Regions from separate parts of the Homo sapiens genome. Here regions 1 and 3 are each linked to region 2. Evidence: promoter capture Hi-C in human tissues and cell types (Jung and others, 2019). All regions are on one chromosome and are shown on one strand. The core of a region is centred on a gene start or on the middle of the fragment in contact, and the rest is flanking DNA. Distances in the headings are between cores, read along the strand shown.

Region 1 (3,127 bases), core at 502-3,001, 190 kb after region 2:
AATGCTATCCCTCCCCGCTCCCCGCATCCCACAACAGTCCCTGGTGTGTGATGTTCCCCTTCCTGTGTCCATGTGTTCTTGTTGTTCATTTCCCACCTATGAGTGAGAACATGGTGGTGTTTGGTTTTTTGTCCTTGTGATAGTTTGCTGAGAATGATGGTTTCCAGCTTCATCCATGTCCCTACAAGGGACATGAACTCATCATTTTTTATGGCTGCATAGTATTCTATGGTGTATATGTGCCACATTTTCTTAATCCAGTCTATCATTGTTGGACATTTGGGTTGGTTCCAAGTCTTTGCTATTGTGAATAGTGCCGCAATAAACATACGTGTGCATGTGTCTTTATAGCAGCATGATTTATAATCCTTTGGGTATATACCCAGTAATGGAATGGCTGGGTCAAATGGTATTTCTAGTTCTAGATCCCTGAGGAATTGCCACACTGACTTCCACAATGGTTGAACTAGTTTACAGTCCCACCAACAGTGTAAAAGTGTTCCTATTTCTCCACATCCTCTCCAGCACCTGTTGTTTCCTGACTTTTTAATGATCGCCATTCTAACTGGTGTGAGATGGTATCTCATTGTGGTTTTGATTTGCATTTCTCTGATGGCCAGTGATGATGAGCATTTTTTCATGTGTCTTTTGGCTGCATAAATGTCTTCTTCTGAGAAGTGTCTGTTCATATCCTTTGCCCACTTTTTGATGGGATTGTTTGTTTTTTTCTTGTAAATTTGTTTGAGTTCATTGTAGATTCTGGATATTAGCCCTTTGTCAGATGAGTCGGTTGCAAAAATTTTCTCCCATTCTGTAGGTTGCCCGTTCACTGTGATGGTAGTTTCTTTCGCTGTGCAGAAGCTCTTTAGTTTAATTAGATCCCATATGTCAATTTTGGCTTTTGTTGCCATTGGTTTTGGTGTTTTAGACATGAAGTCCTTGCCCATGCCTATGTCCTGAGTGGTATTGCCTAGGTTTTCTTCTAGGGTTTTTATGGTTTAGGTCTAATATGTAAGTCTTTAATCCATCTTGAATTAATTTTTATATAAGGTGTAAGGAAGGGATCCAGTTTCAGCTTTCTACATATGGCTAGCCAGTTGTTCCAGCACCATTTATTAAATAGGGAATCCTTTCCCCATTGCTTGTTTTTGTCAGGTTTGTCAAAGATCAGATAGTTGTAGGTATGCGGCATTATTTCTGAGGGCTCTGGTCTGTTCCATTGGTCTATATCTCTGTTTTGGTACCAGTACCATGCTGTTTTGATTACTGTAGCCTTGTAGTATAGTTTGAAGTCAGGTAGCGTGATGCCTCTAGCTTTGTTCTTTTTGGTTAGGATTGACTTGGCAATGTGGGTTCTTTTTTGGTTCCATATGAACTTTAAAGTAGTTTTTTCCAATTCTGTGAAGAAAGTCATTGGTGGCTTGATGGGGATGGCATTGAATCTATAAATTACCTTGGGCAGTATGGCCATTTTCACGATATTGATTCTTCCTATCCATGAGCATGGAATGTTCCTCCATTTGTTTGTATCCTCTTTTATTTCATTGAGCAGTGGTTTGTAGTTCTCCTTGAAGAGGTCCTTCACATCCTTTGTAAGTTGGATTCCTAGGTATTTTATTCTCTTTGAAGCAATTGTGAATGGGAGTTCACTCGTGATTTGGCTCTCTGTTTGTCTGTTATTGGTGTATAAGAATGCTTGTGATTTTTGCACATTGATTTTGTATCCTGAGACTTTGCTGAAGTTGCTTATCAGCTTAAGGAGATTTTGGGCTGAGACGATGGGGTTTTCTAGATAAACAATCATGTCATCTGCAAACAGGGACAATTTGACTTCCTCTTTTCCTAATTGAATGCCCTTTATTTCCTTCTCCTGCCTGATTGCCCTGGCGAGAACTTCCAACACTATGTTGAATAGGAGTGGTGAGAGAGGGCATCCCTGTCTTGTGCCAGTTTTCAAAGGGAATGCTTCCAGTTTTTGTCCATTCACTGTGATATTGGCTGTGGGTTTGTCATAGATTGCTCTTATTATTTTGAGATATGTCCCATCAATACCTAATTTATTGAGAGTTTTTAGCATGAAGTGTTGTTGAATTTTGTCAAAGGCCTTTTCTGCATCTGTTGAGATAATCATGTGGTTTTTGTCTTTGGTTCTGTTTATATGCTGGATTACGTTTATTGATTTTCGTACGTTGAACCAGCCTTGCATCCCAGGGATGAAGCCCACTTGATCATGCTGGATAAGCTTTTTGATGTGCTGCTGGATTCGGTTAGCCAGTATTTTATTGAGGATTTTTGCATCAATGTTCATCAAGGATATTGGTCTAAAATTCTCTTTTTTTGTTGTGTCTCTGCCAGGCTTTGGTATCAGGATGATGCTGGCCTCATAAAATGAGTTAGGGAGGATTCCTTCTTTTTCTGTTGATTGGAATAGTTTCAGAAGGAATGGTACAAGCTCCTCCTTGTACCTCTGGTAGAATTCGGCTGTGAATCCATCTGGTCCTGGACTTTTTTTGGTTGGTAAGCTATTAATTATTGCCTCAATTTCAAAGCTTGTTATTGGTCTATTCAGAGATTCAACTTCTTCTTAGTTTAGTCTTGGGAGGGTGTATGTGCCTAGGGATTTATCCATTTCTTCTAGATTTTCTAGTTTTTTTTTGCGTAGAGGCATTTATAGTATTCTCTGATGGTAGTTTGTATTTCTGTGGGATCGGTGGTGATATCCCCTGTATCATTTTTTATTGCGTCTATTTGATTCTTCCCTGTTTTCTTCTTTATTAGTCTTGCTAGTGGTCTATCAATTTTGTTGATCTTTTCAAAAAACCAGCTCCTGGATTCATTGATTTTTTTTTGAAGGGTTTTTTGTGTCTCTATTTCCTTCAGTTCTGCTCTGATCTTAGTTATTTCTTGCCTTCTGCTAGCTTTTGAATCTGTTTGCTCTTGCTTCTCTAGTTCTTTTAATTGTGATGTTAGGGTGTCAATTTTAGATCTTTCCTGCTTTCTCTTGTGGGCATTTAGTGCTATAAATTTCCCTCTACACACTGCTTTGAACGTGTCCCAGAGATTCTGGTATGTTGTGTCCTTGTTCTCGTTGGTTTCAAAGAACATCTTTATTTCTGCCTTCATTTTG
Region 2 (2,803 bases), core at 123-2,622:
AGGAAGAAGCCAGGTGAGAAACCTGGCATCTGGTCCCATTGAGGCCAAATTACAGCTCCACGGGGGCCGCATGGAAGTGAGAGCTCCCTTAAGACAGCAGATGTGAAGGAAGCAGCGAACACAGTGCTTGATGGCAGCTGAGCTCATGTAGCAGGAGATATTGACAGGTCTCTAAGACTACAGGAAATCGTTGAATTCAATGAGATCATGCATGGAGATTGCCTATACCGTGCCTGGTCATGGTAAGCATTCAGACATTAGCTACGATAGGGACCATTAATTCAGCAAACAAAGATTTATTGCCTCCCTATTATGGTCAATAATCCTACTGTTCTAGGTGTTGGGATACAGCAGTGAACAACAGACAAAATCCATGAGCTGTCAGAGCTTTCCTTCCAGCAGAGAAAGACAAGCAATCGCAAAATGAACAAGCAAAATATATAGTACATCAGCTGGTGCTACAGAGACTTAAAGCAGTGAAGGGGCGTAGGAAGTGTTTGGACCAGGTGGTGCTATTTTATTTTATTTTATTTTATTTTTATTTTTTAGAGACAAGGTCTCGCTACGTCGCCCACGCTGGAGTGCAGTGGTGAGATCCTATTAGATCCCTGCAGCTTCGAACTCCTGGGCGATCCTCCCACCTTAGTTGGTGCTATTTTAAATAAGGCTGTCAAGGAATACAAGTGCAAATCAAGACAAAGGAGGTGAGGGAATGTGCCATGCAAATACCTAAAGAAATCAGTCCAGATTGGGAAGGAACCCCTAGAAGCGGTGGGCAGTGCAGTGCGGGCGCTCTCCTCTGGCTGCGCCCTTTCCCTCTGTGAGGCAGGACGTCAGGTCAGAGCTGAGGGAGCATGAGGAGGAAAGAGGCGGGGGTGGGAAACAGTCTCGGGAGGGGGCGAGCAGTCAGGATTGCAGCGCTCGGAGGGCTTACTGCCTCTGAGGTCAGGGCTGATCGGCAGAGGATTTAGCATCTCTGGGGGCTGGGATGCCAGGGTCCAGCAACCTTGCTCTGGCCCACAGGCCGACCCTGGGCGTAAACACCTGCCTATGCACATCTGAGCCTAGCACCTAACGCCACTGTACATACAAGCACGATATTTTTGAACATTTGACGACTTAGTTAAGCCTCCCAGGTGGCTGCACCTGCGCAGTTCACTCAGGTCCGCAATCCCTCATCTGAAACGCCTGGTCTGGGCAAGTATGAGAATTCATACCATTCTAGATCGCAGGAGGGCGTGGAGCATTCGAAAGAGGGGCCTGAGCGGAGGTCTTGCTGTCCCAGGGAGACCCCGGCTGCCATTAGCAAGCGGTGAGCCGGCAGCCTGTGCGCGGAGGGAAGGGCAGCGCGCAGCGCCCAGTGGTGAAAGAGGCGCTAGCGCACGCGCAGTGAGCGTTTGAGAGGAGCAAACCCGTCGAGACGAAGCTGTAGCGCAAGCGCAGTGGGTATTGAGAGCGGCCGCACCAGCTGAGGGTTCGCGCAACGCTAAACGATGGCCGGGACTAAGGCCTGAGACTCAAGCTCAGGCGCAGTGAAGCGCAGAGCCGCTAGAGTGTCGCGGAGGGCGCCTGAGGCGCATGCGCGGACTCAGCGTTTTTAAGAAGGGCTGGGGGTGCTGGGGAGTTCGCCCCAGCGTGTTGGGGGGGAGTCGCCGCCGCGGGGGGGGGGTTTGGGGTCACCGCCGCGGGGTTTGTCGCCGCCGCTGGGAGCTCACCTGCGTCCGAGGCCGTAAGGACGGCTCCAGTTCATCCTCCATCCGCCTCTGCCGCAGCACTGAGGCTGAAAAGCCGCTCACTCCTTACTCGGCTAAGCCCCAAGCTCATCTCTGCAGGCCGGAAGGGAGCTCTGGTCCAAGGTCATCTCGGCCAAGCCCCTGCATTCGCCCTCGCAAGTGCCAGCAAGCGACTCTGGTCGCCGCGCTCCCAAGTCCTCCCCCGAAATTCCGGCTCTGGCCCCTCGTCCCCCTCCTTTGCTACAGTCTCTGGACTAAATGTCTGCGGGTCTCTGTCTCTCGCTGGTCTGACCTCAGCCGCAACCCTGCGCGATTCCCTGCGCCGGTCGCCACTGCCGGCCGCCAGAACCTCGGAGGCCACTGCCCCTGGGCGTTCTCCGGAGGGCCAAGCCCTTGGTTGTGCACATCTATGCACGCCCCACCTACACCCCCCCCCCCCCACACACACACACTTTGGTTCAGGTATCCCCGACCTTTCCCCAGAGGACGGGAAAATTAGGAAAGACCGAAAGATAGACCCACCAGTCTTCGGAGCGCTCTCATCTGTGCGTCCTGGGCAGAGCGAGAGACTTGGCGGAATGCGGGTAGGAGAACCGGTCTCGGGTTGCCGCCAGGGGATCCATTGCGTGAGAGGCAGGTCCGACTTATGCTGGGGGCACTTGGAGTTGAGGAACCACAGAGTCCACTGAACCGGATTAATCTTTTATCCCTCAGGGCTTCTCAGGCCCTGCATGGAGGAATCCAGGAGCTGGACAAAGACCAACTGAAACTAGACTTGCCAAAGATGCTATTTGTGGTCACAGAAACATAGAGCTGGACATGACCTTAAGAAGTCACCTGAGCAGACACTGTGATGGGCACTGTAGTAGCTCTATTGCTCAGACTTGGTTTTTGTTTGACTTTTGCTGCTCTGAACTTTAATTCCTAAAAACACTGCATTTTTAAGGAAAAACACAAAATATTAGCAGTTATAATAAATAGGTATTTTATTGCATGCTTTTCGTGCATCTATTAAGATGATCATATGGGTATTCTCCTTTAATCTGTTAATGAGATCAGTTACATCAATA
Region 3 (2,923 bases), core at 36-2,535, 130 kb after region 2:
AGAGGCAGAGACGGGAGGATCACTTGAGGCCAGGAGTTTGAGACAAGCCTGGTCAATGTAGCAACACCCCATTTCTATTAAAAAAATCTGACTGGGCACAGTGGCTCACACCTGTAATCCCAGAACTTTGGGAGGCCGAGGAGGGCGGATCATGAGGTCTGGAGATCGAGACCACCCAGGCTAACACAGTGAAACCCTGTCTCCACCAAAAATACAAAAAATTAGCCAGGTGTGATGGCGGGCGCCTGTAGTCCCAGCTACTCAGGAGTCTGAGGCAGGAGAATCGCTTCAACCCAGGAGGCAGAGGTTGCAGTGAGCCGAGATGGCACCATTGCACTTCAGCCTTGGTGACAGAGCGAGTCTCCATCTCAAAAATAAAATAAAATAAAATGAAGTAAAAAAAAATAAAAACTATACATTTCATTCATATATACCCAGAGTATGAAAATTGGCAGTTCTCTTTTCTTGCAATATATGAGTATATAATAAAACCCATGACTCCGTCAGTTCCTTCTTCAAACATAAATTTGAAAGTCTTTGAGGCCGGGCATGGTGGCTCATGCCTATAATCTCAACACTTTGGGAGGGTGAGCTGGGAGGATTGCTTGAGGCCAACAGTTCAAGGCCAGCCTAGGCAACATAGTGAGAGCCTGACTACAAAATGCTTTCTTTCTTTCTTTTTCTTTTCTTTTTTTTTTTTTTTTTTTTGAGACGAAGTTTCGCTCTTGTTGCACAGGCTGGACTGCAATGGTGTGATCTCAGCTCACCACAACCTCCACCTCTGGGGTTCAAGCGATTCTCCTGCCTCAGCCGCCCGAGTAGCTGGAATTACAGGCACCCGCCACCAGGCCCAGCTAATTTTTGTATTTTTAGTAGAGACAGGGTTTCACCATGTTGATCAGCCTGGTCTTGAACTCCTGACCTCAGGCGATCCATTTGCCTCAGCCTTCCAAAGTGCTGAAATTACAGGCACGAGCCACTGCGCCCAGCTTTTTCAAAATTTTTTGAGACAGAGTCTGGCTCTGTGGCCCAGGCTGGAGTGCAGTGGTGCGATCTCAGCTCACTGCAACCTCCACCTCCTGGGTTCAAGCAATTCTGCCTCAGTCTCCCAAGTAGCTGGGATTACAGGCACCTGCCACCATGCCTGGCTGATTTTTGTATTTTTAGTAGAGATGGAGTTTTGCCATGTTGGCCAGGCTGATCTCGAACTCCTGACCTCAAGTGATCCCCCAGCCTCGGCCTCCCAAAGTGCTGGGATTACAGATGTGAGCCACCACACTTGGCCAATTGTCACTCTTAGTTACTGTAAGAACTGGTTGTTGGAAGAGCTTGGCACCTCTGCTCTCTCGCTTCCTCCTTTGCCATGTGATCTGCACACAGCTCTCCTTTGCCTCTGCCATGAGTGGAAGCTTCCAATCCTGCAGCAGAAACAGATGCTGGGGCCATGCTTCTAGTACAGCCTGCAGAACCATGAGCCAAACAAGTCTCTTTTGGACAAAAAAGACAAATGACCCAGCCTCAGCCTCAGCTATTCCTTTATAAGCGGACAAGCTACTTTATTCGGATGTTGTGAGAAGTAGATGAGATAATGTGGGTAGAGACCCCAGATGAGGGTCTGGCACATAGTGTATCAGTCAGGACAGGCTAATTAAGCTGCAGTAACAACTCCAAAACCTCAGTCTTTTGACTCAATAAAGGTTTATTTCTCATTCATCCTACACATCCATCACTGGTTGGAAAGGGGGCTTTGATTTCCATAAGTTGCTCAGGGATCCTGACTGAGAGGTGCTCAATTTCGACACGTGCTTCTGTGATCACCAAGACAGGAAAAAGGGATGATGCAGAAAATCAGGCATTGGCTCTTAAAAATGTTGCTGCCTGCTGGACGTGGTGGCTCACTTCTGTAGTCTCAGCACTTTGAGAGGCCGAGGTGGGTGGATCACCTGAGGTCAGGAATTCAAGATCAGCTTGGCCAATGTGGTGAAACCCCATCTCTGCTAAAAATAAAAAAATTAGCTGGATGTGGTGGCACATGCCTGTAGTCCCAGCTACTCAGGAGACTGAGGCAGGAGAATTGCTTGAACCTGGGAGGCAGAGGTTGCAGTGAGCCAAGATCACGCTATTGCACTCCAGCCTGGGTGACAGAGTGAGATTCCGCCTCAAATTTTTTTTTTTTTTTTTTTTTTTTTTTTTTTTTTTGCTGTTTAAGGCTGGGTGTGGTGGCTCACATCTGTAATCCAGGCACATTGGGAGGCCAAGGCGGGCAGATCACTTGAGCTCAGGAGCTCGAGAGCAGCCTGGCCAACATGGCAAAAACCCGTATCTACAAAAAATACAAAAAATTACCCCAGCGCAGTGTCATTCGCCTGTAATCTTAGCTATTTGGGAGGCTGAGTTGGGAGGATTACTTGAGCCTGGGAGGCAGAGGTTGCAGTGAGCTGAGACCGTGCCACTGCACTCCAGCCTGGGTGACAGAGTGAGACACTCCCTGTCTCTCAAAAAAAGAAAAAATTGCTCTTTACATTTTATGGACCAAAAAAGTCACATGGTCACCCCTCACATGACAAAGTCAAAGACATGCAATTCCACTTCGTGTCTAAAAAGAGGGAGAAAGAAATATTTGCTGAACTTCCATGGTTAGTTACCATAATTTAAAAAGTGGGCAGATGGGAGCTTACTGAGGATGTGACATTTGAGCTGAGGCTTCAATGATAAAGAAGCAGAAATTGTAAGAGCTACGGGTGTGAAGTCTCTAAGGCAGGAATGGGCTTTTGAGGAACAGAAAGTGGCTTGAATGTTTGGAAAACAGTGAATGAGAGTAAGGGCTGGGTCATACAGCAGGGGCTGGGTCATACAAAGCCTTGTTGGCCATTGTGAGGAGTCTAAATTATATTTCAAGTGCACCAGGAGACCGGGCATGGTG

The links. The method cuts DNA at HindIII sites, captures the fragments that hold promoters and counts their contacts. A contact is called where the count stands out against the background at its distance.
Region 1: a contact is called between a fragment that was not itself captured here and the fragment with the promoter of SLC2A11 in region 2, in 1 of the 25 tissues and cell types used here (dorsolateral prefrontal cortex).
Region 3: a fragment that was not itself captured here is called in contact with the fragment with the promoter of SLC2A11 in region 2 in 1 of the 25 tissues and cell types used here (spleen).

The regions. Positions count from the first base shown.
Region 1 is chr22:23,665,877-23,669,003 of GRCh38, reverse strand. It overlaps the pseudogene GUSBP11. Among named protein-coding and RNA genes, the nearest start is that of RGL4, 24 kb to the left of the region's middle. The HindIII fragment of the contact is 3,182 bases long and covers 161-3,127 here.
Region 2 is chr22:23,856,444-23,859,246 of GRCh38, reverse strand. It overlaps SLC2A11 (solute carrier family 2 member 11), which reads right to left and starts at 1,372. Exons shown (of 12, transcript NM_001024939.4): 1 at 1,218-1,372. The coding sequence starts at 1,247. The HindIII fragment of the contact is 17,543 bases long and covers 1-2,803 here.
Region 3 is chr22:23,726,736-23,729,658 of GRCh38, reverse strand. No RefSeq gene overlaps it. Among named protein-coding and RNA genes, the nearest start is that of ZNF70, 23 kb to the left of the region's middle. The HindIII fragment of the contact is 7,610 bases long and covers 1-2,923 here.